Linked DNA regions of Homo sapiens: regions 1, 2 and 3 are each linked to region 4. The links are contacts of gene promoters, found by promoter capture Hi-C in blood cells and fetal thymus (Javierre and others, 2016). All regions are on one chromosome and are shown on one strand. Each heading gives the region's core, a stretch centred on a gene start or on the middle of the fragment in contact. The rest is flanking DNA. Distances are from core to core; before and after follow the strand shown.

Region 1 (2,981 bases), core at 179-2,678, 1.6 Mb before region 4:
CTGGGACACTACCTTAACTGCAAGTCTGACTTGATAACATGATCACCAACCAAATACCTGAATCATCAACATTCCCCTCTACTGAGTTCTCTTGAGCACTCAGCTGACTGTAAACTGTGATCCCAGGTGGAAGTCACTGTGGAGTTTAGGCCACGTCAGTTCCTCGGTGTAATGCACCTCCCAGCTCTGTGCCAACACCCTGCCCTGGGCTTCCCTTATCCCAATTCATCCTGCTCCCCCAGCCACAGGACAGCACCACATCTTTGCTTCCTTGGATGGCCCCAGCTGAGCAGCCCATGCTCCCACCGCCATGAGGAGCAGCCCAGTGTCCAGCCTACCAATTCTGGGGTTGCTGGACAGTCGGCTGTGCTGGAATCAGAGACTCCCAGTCCCTGAAGACACAGGCTGCATTTTTTTTTTCCTTACTGTGAATGTGCTTTGAATACACTCCTAAAAAGTAAACAAAACAAAACAAAACACTTCTCCAAGCCACTGGCAAGTAGGCTTGACCCTGCCAAGTAGGTGGAGCAAAGCTAAAGTCTGGCCAGACCTTCTAACCTTCTTCTGAGGCTCTGTGGCCACAGGCCCACCAGCGAGCTGGATATAATCAAGTACCAAGTCAATCTCTGAGATTTGAGGACTTTTTCTCACAGCTTTTTGGCAAAGTCATCTTGGGAGAGGAAAGAGTAGAGGTAGTCAATTAGAGTTGATTTCTGATTTTCCCAGCATGTAATAAAGATCCCCTCCTCTCATCCCCATCCAGACTCCTGATAACCAAATTAATATCTTAATAAATCCTCAGTATGAATGTCCCCAAGCGACTTGACAGGCCTGGGGCTTTAAGCATGCATTCTATGACCTCATAATTTAAAGAGATTTGGAGGCCAGGGCTGGCAACGCACCAGTGAAGTTTCACCCACCAGACACTGAATCTGGGAGGAGAATTTCTCCTTGAGCCATTTCTGCTGGAACAGCTGCCTGATCACAAGAGGAAAATGCCTCCTTAGATTAACTTGCTGGTGGCCTTGTGAGATACCTCAGCAGCCGTACTGAGACGCCACATCAAGGGACCATCTTTAGTTCCATTTTTTGAGAAGACTTTTTGTTTGGCTTGAAGAGGGTCCCCCTGAAGCTGACCCTCAGTGCTGCCGTCACTGCTGCAACCTCAGCACCTCCATGGCCTGCATGTGCAGACAGGAGAACCGGACCCAGTCAAGGTCCCACCAGTTCTGCAGACAAGGGTCTGGAGTCCAAGTAACCACACAGCACACCCTGCTCAAATTCTCAGGGTGACTCTTCACATGGGATATAATCTGTCTTGAATGGATCACATTTGCCACCCAGAGGAAGAGACAATGTCAAAACTGATTCAGGCCGGGTGTGGTGGCTGACGCTTGTAATCCCAGCACTTTGGGAGGCTGAGGCAGGTGGATCACTTGAGGTCAGGAGTTTTGAGACCAGCCTGGCCAACACGGTGAAACCCCATCTCTACAAAAATACAAAAATTAGCCGAGCGTGGTGGCAGGTGGCGGGTGCCTGTAATCCCAGCTACATGGGAGGCTGTGGCAGGAGAATCACTTGAACCCTGGAGGCAGAGGTTGCAGTGAGCTGAGATCGCGCCACTGCACTCCAGCCTGGGTGACAGAGCGAGACTCCGTCTTAAAAACAAAAAATGCCAAAAAAACCCTTGGATTGAATAAAGCTGGGAAGTGAAAACCCCTAGTCATGTTAGGGAATTTCACATGGCCTGTTACCATAATGCCTTGAGAAAACAGTTTTGGAACAGTGAACTGACTCAGCAATTCATCTGGCTGGGGGTGGTGGAAGTCAAGTTTAGGTCCATGTGCTGCTCCCTCATACTGTGTCCTCTCAATGAAATGCATCCTTTACAAAATCGCAAGGGGGTGTGTCTTTGGGGCCAGACAATGAGAGCAAAAAATGAAGGGAAAATTAAGAACAATGGTTTACCCAAGGTGGTGGTTTCTGAAGAATGATCAAACCATATAATTAAACCAATCATTTTAGGTAACTGTGTGATCCTCTAACAACTTCTGCCAAACTTGGAGAGTCTAGGAATCTTTGGTAACCCTATCTTCTTCAAACATTTGACCAATCAGAGCTGGCCAAGACATATCAGGCAAGACTCCTCATTACCAGAACGGCTGGGAAGCTCCACCTCGAATTAAAACCCTGACACCGGCCATGTGAACAGCAGCACCAGTGACCTCTGGCCACGGCTGGCCGAGGGGCGGACCTAGGCGCCCATGTTTTTCCTGGACCACACTCCAGGGCGGCTTGGCGTGAGAGTAAACAACTTGATCAAGGACAAAGTTTTGACCAAGTCAAAGTTTTCCTCCTGAAAACTGAAGCTACTGACGACTTCTCACTAGACGGAACATGGGAAGAATCAGGCAGATCTAATCACTGCCAGTGTGGACATGACTGATTCCAGCACGTTTCAGATGCTGTGCCTAGTGTTCACACTGCAACCTCCCTGACTATCCACAACTGTCCTGTGAGAGAGAAACTGTTATCACTCCCATTTTCCAAATGAAGAACAGCCACTCAACAGTTCAATACTTGCTGGAGGTCCCACAACTGCTAACTGTATTATGTTACTGAGTAAATGCAGAAGAGCATGCAGAGAAATTACACGGTAAAGCGCGGGGAAGAAGGGGCATGACACGCAAAGACTGGGAGTGGCGGGGTGGATGAGGACACAGAGGGGTCACTCACGCTGCTGGAGTCTGGACCCTTCTGCCTCCACAGTCCCGCTCCACCCTGCTCCTCTGTGTGGAGTCCCTCTGTGACTGTGCCTTAAAAACACTTGTCTTCATCTATGCAAGCCCAAGTGTGTCTCCACTGCTTGTAACCCAAGAAAGAGATGGGAAGGTGTCTTCGGAACAGATTCCCCAGGTGGAACCCAGAGTCGCCCACCCTGGGGTTTCCCGTACTTCAGTCCTGCATGAACACCTTCAAGA
Region 2 (3,366 bases), core at 436-2,935, 1.6 Mb before region 4:
ACATCAAAAGAATGGTTTGTTCTCCAACATCCCACCAGGCTGGAGCTACTCCTGAGTCTTTCAAGGACAGACTCATCCACTGGATAAGTTTGCTAATGACTAGAACAAGATGAGAGCAGTTAATAACATTCTTGAAGCCCAGAATAAGGGCCAGCTGGAAAAGGCTCAAACTGTGTGCTTCCTCTCTGGCCATTACCATCTTTCCGGCTTGGCTGTCACTGCCTTAAACCTGGCTCCTGAAGTGAGCATGCGCTGCAGGGTGGGAAGTGGGCCCACCCACCACGCCTCACAGCATCACGGCTGGCCCAGCTTCCCAGCACAGGGAGGAGGCACTAGACTGAAGGCCTGCAGGAAACATGCTTTCCTATCCTTAACAGGCAATTCCGAAAGTCAAAGAACAGTCTAGAACAGAGTTGGTGAACTATGGTCCATGGGCCAAATCCAGCCTGTCACCTGTTTGTCAATAAAGCTTTATTGGACCACAGTTATGCCTATTCATTTACTGTCTATGGCTGCTTTCACCCACAAAGCCAAAGCTACTTACAATCTGGTCCTTTTCCAAAAAAGTCGAACAATTCCAGTCTACGACTGTGCTGTCCAATATCCTAGCCACAAGACAGGTGTGTCCACTTAAATTTACAATAACTACAGTTAAAAATTCACTTTCTCAGCTGTATATGTTAAGTGCTCAGCAGTCGCAGGTGACCAGGGGCTGCTGCAGAGGACAGCACAGAACATTTCCACCACAGCAGACAGTTCTCCTGGACACAGCTGAGAGTGAGGATTTATGTCACCAAGCTACATTCACAGCCATCAAGTTCCAGGTGACTCTCCTTCTACAGACAGAAGGGCTTACACTAACTCTCAAAAATATGTCCCTTTCACACTCAAACTTATTAGGATGTGCAAATTCACCATTTTAATCGCAAAGTCCAGACTACTTGGTAGACAATAATGGTCAAAGCGATCGTGACAACAAATCAGGTGATCATTTTCCTTACTTACTTACTTGGTCCCCACCCTGATGGATGGTAAACTGGGAAAGCTGGGCCATAGCCCCTGCTCATATCCACATTAGAACCCTGCCTGGCATGTGGTATGGATCAATAAATATTTGTAAAATGATTAATAAATGAGCCCAAGGTACAAAACTGTTATACAAAAAGAGGCTACCGAGCCAAATAAATGGTAAGGCATTGGGGAAAATACCACTACTGTAATCCTGTAGCAAAATGTTCTTCAAGCAGCCAACATTCCTATTTTAAAATGATTTTTTTAAAAAGATCCAAAACAAAACAACACAACAGTCTGGGTTTGGATTCTGGCTCCACCACTTCCAGGCTGTGTGACCTTGGGTAAGTTATTTCTCCTTCAGTGGGAAAGACCCCTCCTTCCTAAATAAACGGGAAGGACAGCGCATGCCCACCCCATCCGAGTGAGCAGGGTAGCCCAGGGTGCAGCCCTCCTTGGTTCCTTCTGCTCCTGACACCAGCCCCTGCTCTCCCGGGCACCCTGCCGGTGTGTTCTTGCTTTAGCCCTCTCGTGGCAGAGCTCCTATGCTGGGTCTCTCCATTCGCTCCTTTGGGACAGGGGCTGCAACTTAATCACTGTAATGACGCTCAGCACTTGGCACACCGGAGCTGCTCAATGGATGTTAAGCTAAGACTCTAAGGCCCAATAAATAAATCAAATTTTGCTAAATCTCACATTAACATGCTCGCTCCAGAAAAGTCTTTATGAGTAAATCAAGCGTTCTTCAAATTTTGAAGTTAGAAATTACCCCCACTGTTTGAGTCAGAAGTTAGTCTTAGGTCTCCAAAGTTATCCCTTCTTAAAAACTCAAGTCTCTTTCAGGCTAATACACTTCACTGCTTTTTCCCTCCACAATTATACAGCAAGCAACCAACCACCCAACCAACAGCAACAAATACAAACTGGCCATAATAAGGTCTTGGAATTTTAAAAAAAAAATCAATGTGGTTCAAGACACAACGTGAAATGATTCTATTTCAGAATAAGTTCATAATTCAAAAACTGAGTAGTATATTAGGCATCTAATAAAAACCAGAAAACACAAACCAAAAAGATTTATGTTATTTATAAGTGGATACCTTAAAAGTATAAAAATTTACATTTTATATGCAGTTAATTTATCTTACTGCTAACTAGTTCGTTTTTAAGAACTAACTTGGCCAGGTACAGTGGCTCTTACCTGTAATCTTAGCACTTTGGGAGGCGGAGGTGGGAGGATCGCTTGAGCCCAGGAGTTCAAGACCAACCAGGGCAACATGGCAAAACCCCATCTCTACAAAAAATATTAAAAAATTAGCTGGGCATGGTGGTGCGTGCCTGAAGTCTCAGCTACTCAAGAAACTGAGGTGGGAGAATCACCTGAGCTCGGGAGGTGGAGGCTGCAGTGAGCTGTGATCATACCACTGTACTCCAGCCTGGGTGACAAGAGTGAGACCCTGTCTCCCAAAAAACAAACAAAAGCTATCTAACTTAAATCCAAACAATTACATTTTGTTCTTGCCCATTTGGTTCTTGCAGCTAAAATACCTGAATGTTACCTGTAGGCAACCTTTGCTTTTTACTGGGTGCACTACAAAAACAATAAATTCACAGCCTGTCCTACAATTTGGTCATTGAATGCTGATTTCCACCTTCATGAAAGATAGTTTGGAGAGAAAAGCACCACCCATTTTATTCCAGTAGATTGAGTCTGCATGTGCCTGGGTACACCCTAGGATCTGAAAAGTCTGGCCTGGCGTTTTAGTCATAGAGATTATTAGTCACCTAGAAATCTTGCTCCCACCCTTCCTTAAAAGAGATTCTGAGAAACAGTTTTGTTGGGGCACAGCTCTGATACTATAAATTCTAAAGTGATCTGATGAAGCTTAAAATCATTTTTCTATTTCACCCAATTATGACCAAAAAAAAATTCATATATCTTAAAATACCAAGAATAAGTAGGCTACTACCCTGATGCCTGTAGTTCAATATAACCGCTATTAATTACTAGAGTAGTTGTGCTTTTAGGCTAAGTTTTGAAACCAAAATATGCATAAAAAGAAGCAAACTAATTATTAAAACAGTGATCTCTATATACCTTGAAAACTTGTTGCCATTTAAAATTTTAAAAGCCAACTGGCAACACAGAGCCTATTTAAATGCAAAATATTTCCTAATATTCCACGAAAACGCTAACATTTCAAAAATGATGACCCACGATAGATTTCAATATTTCAAAGTGGAGCATATTTCTCTCTCAGGCTCCACGGCAAGAATGAAAACAATCCTTTTAAAGGAAGTTCTTTTCCAATCAATTGTGCATATTTTCTGACTGCAATTCATCTTTAATTCTGA
Region 3 (3,049 bases), core at 141-2,640, 1.7 Mb before region 4:
GAAAGCCTGCCTGCAGGCAAGCCCCAGACTTAGATGAATGTAACCTTGCTGGTGGGCGATCATTATTTGAGGAGACAGCTGGAACACGCTAACTCTAGCCTCTTCCCCCTACTAGGTGCCTAACCTGAATCTTTTTTTTTTTTTTTAATCTGTAAAATTAGACTCAAATATTACAGGGTTATCATTAACATCATCGAAGCATTAAACAAATATGAGGTATGATCAGTGAAAACAAGCAGTGGATGGGGAGCTGAGACACTGAGTCTAGTCTCAGGACTAAGATTAGCTGGTGACCTTGGGTGAAATCACTTAACCTGAGCCTCAGTTTCCTCAGGTGTAAAATCAGGATACACCCGTTCAGCAAGGATGCTGTGAGAGCATCCACCTACAACAGTGATGCTCGCAGGCCCGGGGCTGGCACCGTCGCTCTGTGGGCCTCGGCCTCTGGGTCCCCACAAGGCAGGGCTGGGACACCCGCCCGACCTCCTCCCGAACCAGAACCCCGGCTGCCCCCAGCTCCGCGGGTCTGCCCCCGACACATCCCTCCCGAAGGCCACTTGGCTTGGACACAAATCGAAACCGAAAAGCTCATGTGACACTGGAGGCAGGGATGCGGCCTCGCCCGCTCTCAGCCCAGGGAGACGCTGTCTCCACCCAACTCGGCCATCTTGAGAGGCCCGAGCAGACAAAGCGACCCCATTGTTTTGGGTGACGGCAGACGGGGACCCCTTTCCCCTCCCCGCGACCAGGAGCGGGGCGCCCTGGGGGCTCCGGGCCGGGCAGTGGGTGTGGCGAGGGCGAGCCCCGGGCGCCGCGCCGGCCTCTGCGGGGCGTCTGCGGCCCTGGGGACCCGGCCGGCGGGACGTCTGCGGCCGCCGGGCTCTGCCCATCCAGGGGTCATCTGCAGCTGCCGGGCTCCTCCCATCCCGGGGACATCTGCGACCCCGGAGGACCTGGCAGGCCCTGCATTCCGCGAGGCCTGGCTCTGGCGACCCTGCCCTCCGCGGCCCCGCACCTTTGAGCGTGGAGCGCTCCACCAGCACCGTGTGGACCTGCGGGTCCGAAAGGAACTTGCGCATCTGCTCCAGGGCGCTCTTCTCCTCCAGCGCCGCCTCCAGCGCGGCCGGCGCCTCGCCGCCGTCCTCCAGCAGCAGCGGCACCAGCTTGCGCAGGTGCTTCTGCAGCACCGACACGTCCGCCACATTCTGCACGGCCGACACTTCCAATCCGGCCGAGCCGTCCTCGCCGCCGCCGCCCCCGGGCTCCGACATGGTGTCGCGCTCGGGACCTTCCAGGAGCGATGAGAAGGCGGCCGCGACTCAGCGAGACAGCCAGCAAGAGACAGAAACGGCCGCCGGAAGCCGGACCGTCCGCTAGCCCACCGCAGACTGAGGAGAGCGGGAGCCGGCTCCGCCCTAAAGGCAGCCACTGCCAGGTGGCCCCGCCCCGCCCCGCCGGCCGCAGCCGCCGCAGCCACCCGCGCTCGCTCGCGGCCTTAGCGTCACGGCGCCGCGCGTGCGCGGGGGGCGGGCCCGGCGATGTCGCCGCGCGCCCTTCTGGGACTTGTAGTCTCGGCGCTGGTCGGGGCCCGCAGCCTCCGCACTGCGAGTCCTAGGAGATGGGGACTTGGCTCAACGTCCTGGCTCGGCGCCCGGGCTTGGCGAGGTTGGTCAGGGGCTGCGTCTGTCTTCTTCACTGCTGTGGACGCAGCGAATAGCACACAGCCAGAGAAACTTTATAGTGAATCAGTGATGTTATTGGCGAGAGCTAACGTTTAGTGAGCGCTTAGCCTGTGCCCGGCGTTGTTCTAAGCCCCTTAACCTCTCATTAAATGTTCTCTCATTGAATGAATGAATGACTACGTATCAGGTACCAAAATATAGGCACGACAGATGTGTTATTAGATATAGACCGGGAGATTGAGGATACTTTTCAGAGGGGGAGGAGATGAGGGGCGTGCTCAGAGAGTCCCATTGCCAGGCTGGAAACGGACAGCTGGGGAGGGGGCCTTCGGGGCAGTGTAAGGTTAAGCCAGGAATGACACCTTCACTGTACGTAAAGCCAAGCTGTGATGGGATCTGGTTCCTAATGACAAAAATCATTGTCCCCGAGGACGCTGTGAGGACCAAGAGGGAGACCTACTGAGAACAGCTACCTCCAGCAATGGCTCTCCTCCAGCCCCCTAGAGCTGGCACTGTCATTCTGTGGGCCTCAGTATCTGGGTCCGTACAAGGCAGGGGCTGGGTTGCCTGCCCACCAAGTTTCCCCCTAGTTCGGACCCACCACGACCTCCTCCCCTACACCATGACTACATAAGAGCCAGAATCCAGGCTGCCCAGCTGGGTGCGGTGGCTCACACCTGTAATCCTAGCATTTTGAGAGGCTGAGATGGGAGGATTGCTTGAGGCCAGAAGTTCCAAGACCAGCCTGGTCAACCTAGCGAGACCCTATATCTATGTGTATTTAAAAATTAAGAATTTTGTAAAATAATAAAAATAATAGAATCCAGGCTGCCCATCTTTGTAGTTTAGAGATGGTAGGTTCTTCTAAGGGGTAGTAATTGGCCTTTGAAAGTTCACATTCATAACTTCTTTCTTAAGTTGGGTGGAGAGAGGGAAGCCAATGGCGTTTTTTTTTTTTTTGGTTTTTTTGTTTTTTTTAAACATCAAAGTGCACTGTCAGAGTGCCGAGTCCTGATTGGTGGAATGATGATGGTATGATTTGATTCTCCCAAATCATCTTTGAAAAACTGTGAAACATACAATAAGCTTATTCCTTGCCTAATTACCGGTTGCTGGGTCCCAGGGGGTTGCTGGAACACGGAGACTAATCAGATGATTCTTGTCTTTAAGGAGCATGTGGAAGAGGGGACAGATGAATACCCCATCTTCCTGCTCTCCATCAGTCCGCCCTGGTGTGATGTGCCTAAGCAGTTCCGAGTAATCTTCCTGGAAAAAATAAATAGGCAACTGCGATGAGTTTGTGCAAGGATCCTAATGGTAATGAATAATAATAACACACCACTGACAGCGAACGCTGAGTGTTCACT
Region 4 (2,925 bases), core at 143-2,642:
GGCGCCCACGAGTGCCAAGCCCCCTCCTTCTGGAAGGTGCCACCGGGGAGCAGTTGGGAGTCCGGGGAAGTTGGGGGCGGGCGGGGCAAGCGCCCGCGGCGCCCTCCAGCGGCCGATGGGGTAACGGCAGCGCCGGGCGGGGGCGGGGGCGCGCGTCCCGGAGGCAGCAATCCCTGGCCCGCGAGGCCGCGGCGCAGCCCCGCCAACGACCTCCCGCGTCCCGCCCGGGCCGGGGGCGCGCAGCTGCCGCCACAACGGGCCGGCGGGCGCGCCCGTTGATGCGGGCGCGGGGAGCGAGGGCGTCGGGGAGCGAGCGCGCCGGCCCCTCCCCCGGCCGTCTCCGCCCCGCGCGGCGCTTCCCCCTCTCGGAGAAACTACGCCATTGCGGCCTAGCCGGGCGGCGCCGGCCCCTCCCCCCCGCGGCCTGCCGCCATCTTCGCGGCCCGCCGCCCGCCGCCGCCGCCGCGCCCCCGCCGCCGCACGGCCCGCCATCTTTTGGGGCCGCCATACTTGCCCTGGCGAAGAAGATGGCGGCGCCCATCACACACATAAAACATGGCTTCCCTTCAAAACAAAAACATCCCGGGGCCGGGGCGCGCGGCCGGCGCTCACCTGAGGACCACATGGTGACCGAGAACTCGCCCTCCAGGGTCTTGATCTGCACCTGCTTCTGCTCCCACTTCTTGTTGCCCGGGTCGGCGCCGCCGCCGCCCGCCGCGCCGGCCCCGCCGCTGAGGTAACTCTTCTTGCCGCTCTTCTTGCCGCCGCCCTTCTTGACGCGGCCGCCTCCCGACGACGACGAGCCGCCGCCGCCGCTCTTGCCGGCCGCCGCCACGGTGACCAGCGTTTGTTCAATGTAGTCGTCGTCGCCGCCGGCCGGCGCGGGCACCGGGATGAGAATCTGATCCTCGAAGCCGTCCTCGGCGCGCAGCCCGTCCGAGTCGTCGCCGCCCACCACCTCCTCGCGCGTCTGCACCAGGATCACCTCCTGGTGGTGGTGCACCTGGGTCGGGTCGTCGGTGACCAGCGGCTGCAGAGCGATCATGGGCGGGTGGTGGTGGTGGTGATGGTGGTGGTGGTGGTGGCCGGCGTGCCCGTGGCCGCCCCCGCCGCCGTGGTCGCCACCGCCGCCGTCCTCGTCGTCGTCGTCCTCCTCCTCCTCCTCGCCCACCACTGTGGTCTCGATGGTCTCCACCGGGATGGTCTCCACCTCGATCTCGTGCAGCTCCACGATCTCGGCCGGCATCTCCGAGCCGTCCGTGGCGATGTAGAGGGTGTCGCCCGAGGCCATGGCTGAGGGCTCCGCCGCCACGGCCGCGGCGGCCTCGGCTCCTCGGCTGCGGGCGGGCGGGCGAGGAGGCGGCCGGCCGTGGGGAAGGAAGGCAGAGGGAGGAAGGCGGCGAGCGGGCGGGGGGAGAGGGGGCGGGCGGCGGGGGAAGGGGCGGGCGCCGCGGCGGCGGCGGGGCTTCCCCGCCTCCCTCGCCTCGGTGCGCCCGCGCCCGCGCTCGCTCGGCCGCTGCTCGTCTCGGCTCCCCGCCTCGCCTCGCCTCGCCGCAACCGCCCGCCCTGGCCGCGCCTCCTCCCGCCCTCCGGGCCGGCGCTCCGCTTCCCCCTTCCTCCTGCGCCTCCGCCTCCTTCCACACAAATACCAACTCCTCAACCCGAGCCCAGATCTCGCCGCCGCCGCCACACTCTGCTCGGGCCCGGCCTCGCGAGACTTCCGCGCTGGCCTCAGCCCGCCCCGCCTCGCTGCCACTCGCCCGTTCGCCCTCTCGATTCTCCTCTCGGCCAATCGATCTGTCCGCTGGCCTCCGCGGCCCCGCCCACTCGCCGGGCTCCTCCCGGATTGGGGCCGATGGGACCGGGGGCGGGGCGGCTCGCACGCGCCCTGGCTGGCCCGCGGCGCGTGACGTCAGCGCGCCGCCGCCGCCGCCACCGCCTCCCGCTTCCCGGTGTCGCGCGGCTGCCGCCCTTCGCGGTGCAACAGCCACAAAACCCGCCGCCTCGGGCCGGGGCCGCACTCGGGAACGGGGCGTCGCCGCTACAGCCGCTGCCTTGGGAGCCGGTGAGCGGTCCGCGCGGCCCCGGGCACCACGGGGGCGGGAGCCTGAGGAGAAGGGAGGGAGGGGCCGGCCGGGAGCGGGGTTGAGGCGGGTGGGCGGCCCGGGGGCCGCGCGGGGAGCGGCTGGCGCGTGCGGGGCGGCCCTGTCGCCCCAATAAAGTCTGCTTTGACGAGAATCGCCTGTGCTTCCTTTTTCGCGTCGGGAGGTGTTTGTTCTTGTCGCCTGGCTTCGGGCGAGCGATGGCCGCGGGGTGAGTGTGGAGGACCGAACGGACAAAATCGGGCGACGCGGGCAGCGTCCGGTATCTCGCCGCGAGCGCCCGGCGGGGTGCGGGGCCGAGCGCGGGGTCGGCGCGAGCTCGGCGGAAGCGCCCGCGGAGCCCCAGGGCCACCGTTGGGAGGATGTCCGTTATTCTTTAGTGACCCGCGGAAACCTGAGACGCAGCCGTTGGGTGCCTGTTTCCCCGTAGATCTTAGAACTACAGGGTCCTGGCGGCTTTCTAAAATTTTCTCCTGAGCTTCCCCTTCTTTGCTCTCCAGTCAGCCATTGTTTCCCTTGCCCACCCTTTCCCCCTATTTGTCACTTTCATAGGTGCTCCTTTTTACGCCCACCAGGTTTTGCATTTGTCTCATTTAAAATTCCAAATTTTTTCAGCCGTGTCCTCCATTGTACCTGCAACAGAGCCTAGATTTTTTTTTGTGGCACGGATTAGCGGCAAGTTAAACCTTCCTGAATGAGTTACATTGCAGCGAAGTGTTTCTGCTCTTATCTGTCCTTTTGGTCGACCTGACAATTTGCCTTAAAGCAAAACAAAGATTTCCTGATTTTTAAGGAAACTATGACAAATTGAAGAGTTGGAAAG

What was found. Contacts are between HindIII fragments. The CHiCAGO score rates a contact against its expected background, and 5 or more counts as called.
Region 1: a fragment that was not itself captured here is called in contact with the fragment with the promoter of YY1 in region 4 in 1 of 17 cell types (activated CD4 T cells); the score reaches 5.9 in activated CD4 T cells.
Region 2: a fragment that was not itself captured here is called in contact with the fragment with the promoter of YY1 in region 4 in 1 of 17 cell types (neutrophils); the score reaches 5.0 in neutrophils.
Region 3: the fragment with the promoter of DYNC1H1 here is called in contact with the fragment with the promoter of YY1 in region 4 in 1 of 17 cell types (neutrophils); the score reaches 6.4 in neutrophils.

What each region holds. Positions count from the first base shown.
Region 1 is chr14:101,832,500-101,835,480 of GRCh38, reverse strand. All of the region lies in intron 3 of PPP2R5C (protein phosphatase 2 regulatory subunit B'gamma), which reads right to left. Among named protein-coding and RNA genes, the nearest start is that of PPP2R5C, 72 kb to the right of the region's middle. RefSeq lists an enhancer at 2,266-2,766. The HindIII fragment of the contact is 5,116 bases long and covers 1-2,981 here.
Region 2 is chr14:101,810,467-101,813,832 of GRCh38, reverse strand. All of the region lies in intron 3 of PPP2R5C (protein phosphatase 2 regulatory subunit B'gamma), which reads right to left. It overlaps LOC124903388 (a long non-coding RNA gene), which reads left to right and starts at 2,843. Exons shown (of 2, transcript XR_007064349.1): 1 at 2,843-3,366. RefSeq lists an enhancer at 3,215-3,366. The HindIII fragment of the contact is 2,427 bases long and covers 472-2,898 here.
Region 3 is chr14:101,962,914-101,965,962 of GRCh38, reverse strand. DYNC1H1 (dynein cytoplasmic 1 heavy chain 1) reads right to left here and starts at 1,390. Exons shown (of 78, transcript NM_001376.5): 1 at 1,016-1,390. The coding sequence starts at 1,271. RefSeq lists silencers at 698-907, 1,398-1,557 and enhancers at 433-1,042, 1,043-1,653, 1,698-1,837. The HindIII fragment of the contact is 2,903 bases long and covers 1-2,770 here.
Region 4 is chr14:100,237,611-100,240,535 of GRCh38, reverse strand. It overlaps YY1 (YY1 transcription factor), which reads right to left and starts at 1,392. Exons shown (of 5, transcript NM_003403.5): 1 at 613-1,392. The coding sequence starts at 1,291. YY1-DT (YY1 divergent transcript) reads left to right here and starts at 1,915. Exons shown (of 2, transcript NR_189150.1): 1 at 1,915-2,065. RefSeq lists silencers at 1-470, 741-790, 1,281-1,350, 1,501-1,580, 1,641-2,240 and enhancers at 481-640, 1,478-2,330. The HindIII fragment of the contact is 3,842 bases long and covers 1-2,925 here.